Linked DNA regions of Homo sapiens: region 1 is linked to region 2. The links are contacts of gene promoters, found by promoter capture Hi-C in blood cells and fetal thymus (Javierre and others, 2016). All regions are on one chromosome and are shown on one strand. The core of a region is centred on a gene start or on the middle of the fragment in contact, and the rest is flanking DNA. Distances in the headings are between cores, read along the strand shown. Region 1 overlaps LOC105375716 (a long non-coding RNA gene). Region 2 holds the start of MED30 (mediator complex subunit 30).

Region 1 (5,236 bases), core at 2,144-4,643, 130 kb before region 2:
AATAGCTCCATTTCTTTGTACACTCATATTTTATTGGTTTTATAATAATTATATAATTACAATAATAAATGCAACTGGCATAATTAGGCTTGTGAACAAATAAAATGGACTTTTTGGAAGCTTAAAATCCAACCTGTGGGAGCAGAAGTGCTTGGCACAGTAGAGAGTAGTCTACTGTTCAGGAGTAAGTGGAGTGCCAAGGGCATCCAACATTTATGCTTTTTACAGGGGAAAAGAAGAACATTGATTAACCCATCATGATAGTTAAGTAGAGATTGGTTAAAAGAGCTTTTGTTTTACATTCTTTTATTTCACACTCTTAGCACATTACCAGGTACATATTAGGAGCTCAATAGATGTTTGTTAAAGAAAATAACTCTATAAATACTTCTAGAGCTCCTACTCTGGGCAAAGCTTTGTCCTAATCACTGAGGGGGAAACAAAGAAGTATAAATTTTCTTTTCAGCTTTCACAGAGCTTATGTGTAACAAGGGAGTATATTAATTAAAAATTGCCTCTGGCTGCCAGTAACAGAAAGCTGAAATAACAGTGTTTAAACGAATTAGGTGCTTATTTGTTCACATAACATGAAGCCCCGAAGTTTAGCAGCCCAGGACTAGTATAATCATTCAGTGAAATTGTCAGAAGTCAAGGCTCCTTCTATCTTCCTGCTTTATCATCCTACAGCACACTTTCTGCCTTCAAAGCCACCTTACGGATTGTATTAATCAGAGTTCTCCAGAGTAACAGAACTAATAAGATATGTGTACCTATAGAAAGAGATTTATTGTAAGAAACTGGTTCATGAGATTATGGAGGCTGAGAAGTCCCAAGATTTGTAGTCACCAAGCCTAGGAGAGCTGATGGTGTAGTCTTAGTTCAAAAGTCAGCAGGCTCCAGACCCCAAAAGAGCTGACATTTCAGTTTGAGTCCAAAAGAAGGAAAAGGTTCTATTCTGGTCTTTAGCTGATGGGAGGAGGCCCATCAACATTGGGGAAGGCAATCACTCAGCCTACCAATTCAAATGTTACTCTCATCCAGGAACACCATCACAGACATACCCAGAATAACATCCAGCTGAATGCATGGGCACCCTGTGGTCCAGTCAAGTTGACACACAATTAACCATGACATCAATCCAGTTGGTTGCTACAGCTCCAAACCTCAGAACCAATTATCAGATTTCAGGGAGGAGAAATGTATACTAAGGGACACATTTGTCAGTGAGTTAATAAACTTTTGAAACCTTACTCTACTTTTCATGTAACTTCTTGTTGACATATCATTGGCAAGAACCAATTATAATTTCATGGGCACACTTAGCTGAAAAAGAGCTGGGGAAATATCTTCTTTAAACTGAAATCACTGTCACCCAATATTAGGTTGGTACAAAAGTAATTGCGGTTTTTGCCATCCCTTTTAATGAAAAAATTGCAATTACTTTTGCGCCAACCTAATAAAACTGGGGTTCTATGACTAATGAAAAAGAGCAAACTGACATTGAAGAGGGCTACCAGCAATCTCTTCTACAGGGAGCTAAATTGTGTGAAACTCCAAATTCTTCATGAGGACTTCAGACTAAGAGCAGACATGAAGCCTTCCTTAAAAATAATTAAATGCAAGTTCATGCAGAGGAAATTTAATAGAGAAGAACATTTATTGCCCCTCAACATGAAGCAGAGAGTCAAATGGGCACAGAATAATAAATGGTTTGCTTCCTAAAAACCTCATTATTGCCTTATGTTTTTCAAGATCATCTTCATTGGTAAAAGGTTTTCATTCAACTTCTAATTAAAATTCTAACGTTCAGAAGCCACTTTAGTCTGAAAGGCAAAGCACAAATGGTTTAGGATAAAAAGATGCCCCATGTCATGACACATTTCTTAAGAATGACTACAACAGCATTCCCCTGAAGTGTGAATGTGACTTTAGTCTTACCACATACATGGCCCAAAGAGTAGAATTCCAAAGCATCTAAATAAATTGGAGCCCCCAGGAGTGATAAATACTACGTTTGTCTCACTGCCTTCCTCCCTTTGACAGCCCTTCTCCTTGTTAATAAGCATTTTTTAGGTTCTTAACCTCGCAACAAGCCTTGTTTCTCAGATCACTAATGATTACCCCCTCTTGCAGTGACATGCTCAACAAACACTCCATTTCAGATCCTGAAAAACTTGTGAAAATGAAACAACACCAGATTTTCTCACTGACATCACCCTGCTTCTAGTGACAGATCTGAAATGCCTGTGCATGCTAAATTTAGTGTTAAAAAAACTTTAGCTGGTGTTCAAACTGTCAGAAACGCTGTGGAGGGCCCTGACTTGTAAGAAGATGTGGCTTATTGTTTTGACAATTCTAGTTTTTCCTCCTTCTATGTCCTGCAAGGTTTTAAAAACACAGGTGAGATAAGAGTAAAAGATTTTCCATCTTCCCTTTGGATCAACAATTCTCATCCTTTGGGGAACTCACCTTTTGCTTTATTCTATGATACACCTTTCCTTTCACCTTCTGAAGACATTTTATGGCAGGAATTTATTGTTTCAATTTCAATTAATTTTGTTTTGACAATCTCTTGACACTATTTTATGGTTGAAGACACCCTGGGGTGTGGCAAAACCAAGATTGTGAATTACTGATCCCTTTGTTCAAAGAAAACAGTTTCCCTTTTATGAGAAGGCCAAGATAAAAAGGACTAGAAGGCAGTAAATTGAGACTGCAAATTCTCTAACAGGACTCCAAATTTGTTATTAACTCTGCCTTCCTTAATGGAAAATATAGAAGAGAAAATTGCAACTGATGAAGAATGGTTTAAACTCCTGAAAAAACTTGAAAGGATTCTGGATTTTTTTTATTTTTAAGAGAAATTTTATTTCTTTTTTCATGACAAAAATAAAAGAGAGGAAAAGGAATGTCTCTAAAATTTGTGAAGCATTATGACAAGGAGATGCTTATATCATTAATCTCAAGGCTCTATGGTGTAGTAACATTATTTTCAAACTGCTGCTTGGAACCATTTACACAAGAAGAATATGTTAGGGGATTTAAGGGAGGGGTCACTATCCTGGAGGCTTGGACGAGAGAAGATATACATACAGAGACACACAGAAACAAAAGGAACACAAAACTGTGAGTAAGAAACTTATTTTATTACTTATTCTTCCATTAACCAGCTTTATAATTATGGGCAAGTCAGTGCTTGTCTGTCAAATGAGAAGGTTAGATGATAATGAGGTCCCTTCAAGTCCTAAGTTCCATGCTTTTAAGACTTTTATAGTTTCAGTTCTACAGAGAAGAGGGGAGAAACAGACTTTGGAATTGCAAGAATTATAATGATCTTGGATGAAAGCAGGTCGTCCTTCATTATGAAACCCTCTTCTGGAATACAATTAAAGATCAGGTGAGGGGAGGAAAGAAATGCAGAGGAAATTTAATAGAGAAGAACATTTATTGCCCCTCAACATGATTTAGAATAACTAAATTTATTCTGCCTGTACCTGAAGAGAATATTGTGACTTTGGAGATGGATTCAGTCTTCCTATTTAGCTACATATTGAGATAATATATTCATTTTTGTGTCCCCAGTGGAACATGGCTGGAGACAAGAATAGAAAGGAGATCACCCAAAAGCACACTCAGCAAAATGCTCCATGCTTCCAGGCCCCGGGGGGAAGTCTGGTTAAAATTCATGTCCAAGTGGCCCTGGAATCAGGGACATAAGCATAGAAAATTGTCTGTAGAAACCAGTGACCCTCTAACCATAACAAAGCAAAAGAGTCAGGAAGACGTTTTCCCCATAGGCTGGGACAATGCAAAGTGCAGGCATTTCTAGAGCAGTTATGTTGCTTTCTTTGTTCATCTATTCATTCTACCAGTGAGTATTTGTTAAATATCACGCTCTGTGAGAGACGCTACTGAAATGCATAAAGGAAAAAGGAATCATGAAGTATCCACATTTTATAGGTGGAGGCATTTTCACAAGCAGAATAACATGTCAAGTGCAGGGATAGGGAGGTATATGGTTTCCTGTAGTTGCACAAAGAGAATATTCACCATCCAGTTTGCAGTAGGTCATCAGAAGGCTTCCTGAAATAGCTGATATTTAAAGAAATTCTTAAAGTGAGTAAAAAATAGCTATTGAAAAGACCTGAGAAACTGGGGGCAATATTACCCCAGGAAGAAGAAAAGTGTACAGGTGAGAATCTGCATAGCCAGGCCCGAGGACAGTGGAAGGACTGTTAGTCACGAAAACCCTCCCAATGATTCATTCTCTGCCTCACCCTCTGTGAGCCAGGGTGTGGTTAGGATGGATGTGGTGAGTAAGATTGGGTGCCCTGGAGGATTGCTTGCACCTGAACAAGGCAGAAAGCATCTCACCCTTTTCTTTCTTTACCTGAGGAGTGAAAGTGAGTAGTCAAACACATTTCTGAGCTCTGTCACAGCTTTATTTTTCTAAATCTTACTTCTGACAGTCTTCTGCTTAAAACCTAATCATCTGGTTTTTCTAGATTTACATAGAATAATGGCTGCCTCTTAACTCTAATTCTTTCTAAATATTCACCCAAAACCCACCTGGATAAATAAAATCAGCAAATAAAACGACCCATAATCTATGCTTTCTGCAGGAAACAGAAAATACAATAATGTGAGCTTAAAACACTGGCAAGTAGGGAAATTTTTTAAAAATCCAGTTTAGGGGAAGAGTAAGGCAGAGATATGAAAGAGGCCAAAAGAAGGAGGAAAGAGGAGCAGGGGCCACAGGAGAAATAGGGTAACAGAATCCAAATAGAATTCCCTCCAAAAGCTAAATCCCCACCATGCAGTGGAAAATACCAAGAACAAATGTAGAATCTGGTAGATCTGAGTACTGGCTAGAAAGAAAGGAAAACAAGAAAGAAAGGAGAGAAATGAAAGGATTTGCATGTAATCAGGACCCAAAGCAGCAACATTGGAAACTAAAACTTCTGCATGGGAATGGGGCAACTTGAGAAGGAAACATGCCCCATGGGCACTTACTTGGTAGTGAAGGTAAAAAAATATATATAAAAACAAGAAATTGAGATTTCTGGTGTGTGTGCACGTGTGTGTGTGTGTGTGTGTGGGTGTGTGTGTGTGAGAGAGAGAGAGAGACAGAAAGTGAGAGAGAATCACAAAACAGAATACACAAAAATTTTCCACACACAAAAATAGCTAAATTAATTAGAGAAACTACACTTCACCACACTAAAGGAAGAGGGTA
Region 2 (5,077 bases), core at 2,535-5,034:
TGCAGGAGAAATTTAAAGCATGAGAGAGACTTGCCTGCCATAGCTGGCTTTGAAGATGGAGGAAGGGACCACAAGCCAAGGAATGTGGCATCTCATAGAAGCTAGGAATGGCTGTCAGTTTACAATCAGTAAGAAAATGGGGACATAAATTTCTGCTGCTTTAAGCCACTAAATTCTGATATTTTTTTCCAGCAGCAACAGAAGACTAATGCAGGCTATTTTTTTTCTTTTTTTTTTTTTTTGAGACAGAGTCTTGCTCAGTCGCCCAGGCTGGAGTGCAGTGGTGCGATCTCGGCTCACTGCATGCTCCACCTCCCAGGTTCACGCCATTCTCCTGCCTCGGCCTCCCGAGTAGCTGGGACTACAGGCGCCCGCCACCATGCCCAGCTAATTTTTTTGTATTTTTTAGTAAAGACAGGGTTTCACCATGTTAGCCAGGATGGTCTCGATCTCCTGACCTCGTGATCCACCCGCCTCGGCCTCCCAAAGTGCTGGGGTTACAGGTGTGAGCCACAGCACCCAGCCTGATGCAGGCTATTTTAAGTAGGGTGGCCAGAAAAGGCCACTGTAAACAAAGCCTGGAGAGATAGCTGAGAGAAGAGCTTCCCAGGCCAAAATAAATGAGTCTGAAGTGAGATGAACTTGGAGTGCACAAGGAATAGTAAGGAGGTGTATGTATCTGGAGTGAGGGGAGAGCTGTGGGAACTGAGAGAGCAGGAACAGCCTAGGCCAGCACATGTGGAGGTGTGCAGGTCATGCAGCTTTGGATTTTATTCTAAGCACGATGAGAGGACAGGAGAGCAGGGGAGAATCATAACCTGACTTAGCTTGTAAGTTTGCCTGTGGGTGCTGTAATGAGTGTGGACTGGATGGGGCAAGTGTAGCAGGAAGGGAGTTCAATTAGGAGACTCTTGATTGTTATCCAGCATTCTAAATAAGAGAAGACAGCTTGGACTAGGTTGAAAGGGGTGAAGTAATTGGTCACATATAGGATATATTTGAAAGTCAGAGTTCATTCTATTTTCTGATGACTTGGAAGTAGGGTGGGAAAGAGAGAAGCCAGGATGGGCAACTAAATGCATGGTGGTGCCAGACAATGACATGGGAAAAGTGTGGTAAAGAAGGTTGGGAGGGATCAAGAGTTGGGTTTTCTTAGACATAAGTTTTAGATGCCAAATAGCCATCCAAGTCAAGATGTCAGGTTTTTAGGTATGTGAGTTTGAATTTAGGGACAGTTTGGATTGGCGGCATGTGGTAGGCAGATTTTAGTTACTCCCCGAAGATGTCCACATCCTAATTCCCAGAGTCTGTATGTCATGTTACATGGCAAGGGGCGATTAAGGTAGCAGACGGAACTGAAGCTGCAAAACAGCTGACCTTAAAATAAAAAGATATCCTGGATTATCTAGGTGGACCCGATGTAATCAAAATGATACTTAAATGAAAGAGAGGCAGAGGACTCAGAACCAGAGATATGGCATATTCAACTAGCCAATTCTGGCTTTGAAAAGGATGAAAGCTGGTTTTTGCAGTTGGTGGAAGTGGTCATGAGCCAAGCAATTGCGGCAGCCTTCTAAAATCTGGAAAAGACAAGGAAACAGATTCCTTCTGAGAGCCCCCAGAAGGGAACACAGCCCGCCAACACCTTGAGCGTAGTTCAGCGAGAACAATTTCAGACTTCTGAGCTAAAAAGCTATAAAATAATAAAAGGTGTGCTGTTTTAAGCCACAAAGTTTGTGGTAATTTGTTACATGTGCAATAGGAAATTAACATAAGGCATAATTTCTCGGAAACTTATTTTTTCTTCAGTGTATCCTGTCTTGGTAAATGACATAAACTTCACCTGAAGTTTCACATGAAAGCAGAAATACGTGCCATCCTTAATTCTTTCCTCTCCTTAATGTTCCTGATCCAGTTACTATCAAGTTCTCTAGATTCTACTTACTAAATATTTATTCAAAGTTACCCTCTGTCTCCTTTCTCTGCACAGGTCATGATCATCATCATCATTCCCCTTTGGGAGAGAAGACAATAGAAACCCACCATCTGTTCCCCATTTAGCAACCAGAATAAGTGTTCTAAAATGAATATTTCAAATTATTCCTCTCACCTTGAAACTCTTCAATGGCTTGCTATTTCACTCCATAAATTCTCAACTGCTTGACATGGGTTAGAAGATCCTCCAGGGTTGCCTCTGTCTTCAGCCTTATTTCCTAACACTCGTCCTCACACTGAACTTCTTCCAGATCCTAGAAAGCATTAGGAGGCCTCTTCACTTCAGGTGTTGGCACTGGCCTTCCTCGTCCTCATAGAAAAGACTCTATCATTCGTTACTCCCTTCCCTATCCACCTTCAGGTTCCACACTGCTCCCTTCAGGTCGTTCTCAATCTCCTAAATTGTTAGCACCCTGATATCAGGAACTTTTGCTTCAAGACGCTCATCACAATAGTGTTCTGTTTGTCCCCATGACAAACATGCTGCAGGGCTTTTGCCTGGTTTGTTCAGTACGCTATCTTCACTCCTAGCACCCAGCACATAATAGGTGCTCAGCCAATATTTGTCGAATGGTAATTACCGAAGACCTGCGAATTACTATGTTTAAAATCTCTACCAGGGTTCCTATGACATATTTAGTAACTATTTCCTGGAAAGTCCGTACAATGGAGCATTCAGATACTTCTAAAAAATGCAATGTTTGTGCCTATCACTAATTTTACATTCTTCACTTTTCCCCACTTTGGAGATGAACAGTAAGTGAGAGACATTGTGAGAGACATTTTAATTTCTCTTGCATTTATCATGTCACTCAACAATCATTCAATAAGTATTTATTGATACTTGTGCCAATCACTAGGTGTTGAGAATAAGTGAATAAAATAGTCTGTTTTCATGGAGTTGGCAGTGTGTGTAGATAGGGTGAGATAAAGTCTGAAAGTAAACAAACTGAAAGCTATATAAAATATCAGACAGTAGGCCGGGCGCGGTGGCTTATGCCTGTAATCCCAGCACTTTGGGAGGCCGAGGCGGGCGGATCACGAGGTCAGGAGATCGAGACCATCCCGGCTAACACGGTGAAACCCCGTCTCTACTAAAAATACAAAAAATTTGTCGGGCGTGGTGGCGGGCGCCTGTAGTCCCAGCTACTCGGGAGGCCGAGGCTGGAGAATGGTGTGAACCCGGGAGGCGGAGCTTGCAGTGAGCCGAGGTCGCGCCACTGCACTCCAGCCTGGGTGACAGAGCGAGACTCCATCTCAAAAAGAAAAAGAAAAAAAAATCAGACACTAATAAGAGCCAGAGTCAGAAAGAAGTGTGTGTGTTGATCATTTTTTTTGCTTACAGATACTGGGAAAACTCAAAGAATAAAACATCTGAGCAGGGACCAAGAGCAATCGGGGAGTCCGTATCATGTCACAGAGAAGCGTACAAGCTTAGGAATCTTGTTTTCTGAATTCGAATCGCAGGTTGCCAGTTACACCTGTATGCGACTCAACAAGTACTTTAACCTGTCTCTTAGCTGTTATACTACAAACCTCAGGCTTGTTAAGAGAAAATGCTCCGCAAGGAACTAAACACAGAAGGTTCTAACGCTGAGCCAAGACTGGGAAACGAACTCTGGGAACTCACCCCAGGCTCCCCAAGAACATCGCCCCTCTGGCTGGAGCGCAATTGGTGATTGGCTACTTAACCCGTCCGTCCTTTCCCGCCCAGGGGTCCAATCCAATCCAGCCCGGCTCCGCTCGGAGACAGTTCGCCGAGTGGGCGGTGTCTATGACGTTTTCTGACGTGTTACGTCACAGTGGGCGGAAGTCGCGGCCGCTGTTTTGAAATCGGGCCGCGGGGGGTCTCTCAAGCTGGTTCCAACGCTGAGGCCCCACAGCCTCCCAATTCCGGGCAGACCCCTGACACCTGCTGTCTGGCCCCTTCCGGCCTGAAGCTGCAGCCGCGCCATGTCCACCCCTCCGTTGGCCGCGTCGGGGATGGCGCCCGGGCCCTTCGCCGGGCCCCAGGCTCAGCAGGCCGCCCGGGAAGTCAACACGGCGTCGCTGTGCCGCATCGGGCAGGAGACAGTGCAGGACATCGTGTACCGCACCATGGAGATCTTCCAGCTCCTGAGGAACATGCAGGTAGGAAGGCGGGCGCGCGAGGCCAGGGGGATGCAGCTGGGAGGGAAAGGGCCTCTGGTTTCCTCTTTACGTGGGGCCCGTGGATGTCATCGGGGCTGCCCTGGGCAAACCTTAGGTGTAGGGTCTCCCCCATTCACACTCAAGAGTGTCCCCAAAAGTCGGATTTGTAGAGGTGATGTTTTCCAGACCAGATTTCTGCAGAATTGAAGCCAATTTTTTTTAGATTCAATCGAGCTCTTTAGTTACTCTGTAAACTCTTGCACCTTTCAAGGCAGAGATGGGTCGCACTCCACTTCCCTCTTTAGGTTGCTTTAAATGTTTTTTCCAGCATTTCTTCTGGGGAGGTCCAAGGAGTTGAAGAATTTACATTTTTTTTAAAAAAACAGTCCTCCTTTTTTTGGCATAGTTAATATACAGTAAACTACACTCACCTAAAGTTTTGATATATATGTGTACTGTAGTCTGTATACTTGTGAAATTATCACCACAATCAAAATAGTGTACACATCATCCCAGAAAGTTTCTTCATACCCCTCTGACATCTTTGCTTCCCACCTTCCATCGCTAAGCAACCATTGATCTGCGTTCTGTAATCATAAATTAATTTGCATTTGCTAGGGTTTTATATAAACGGAGTCTACAGTATGTGGGCTTTTTTTTTTGTCTGAGATCCTTCACTAAGAATGCATCAATAATTTCCTTTTTATTGCTGAGTAATGTTCCATTGTATCCATGTATCACCATTTGCCTACCTTTTCTTCTGTTGATGGACATTTGGGTTGTTTCCACTTTTTGGCTGTTGTAAATAATGCTGCTATGAACTTTTGCTGACAAATTTTTGTGTGAACGTATGTGTCATTTCTCTTGGACAGATTCAGGAGTGGAATTGCTGGATCATGCAGTACATGTCTGTTTAATACTTTAAGAAACTTTTCCAAAGTGGCCTGAGCCA

The links. The method cuts DNA at HindIII sites, captures the fragments that hold promoters and counts their contacts. A CHiCAGO score of 5 or more calls a contact.
Region 1: a fragment that was not itself captured here is called in contact with the fragment with the promoter of MED30 in region 2 in 2 of 17 cell types (naive B cells and total B cells); the score reaches 5.7 in naive B cells.

What each region holds. Positions count from the first base shown.
Region 1 is chr8:117,384,345-117,389,580 of GRCh38, forward strand. The region is part of intron 4 of LOC105375716 (a long non-coding RNA gene); the gene reads right to left. Among named protein-coding and RNA genes, the nearest start is that of MED30, 130 kb to the right of the region's middle. RefSeq lists an enhancer at 3,735-4,934. The HindIII fragment of the contact is 5,963 bases long and covers 413-5,236 here.
Region 2 is chr8:117,516,929-117,522,005 of GRCh38, forward strand. MED30 (mediator complex subunit 30) reads left to right here and starts at 3,785. Exons shown (of 4, transcript NM_080651.4): 1 at 3,785-4,125. The coding sequence starts at 3,949. It overlaps LOC105375716 (a long non-coding RNA gene), which reads right to left and starts at 3,792. Exons shown (of 7, transcript XR_928569.3): 1 at 3,626-3,792; 2 at 2,111-2,249. The HindIII fragment of the contact is 1,953 bases long and covers 3,427-5,077 here.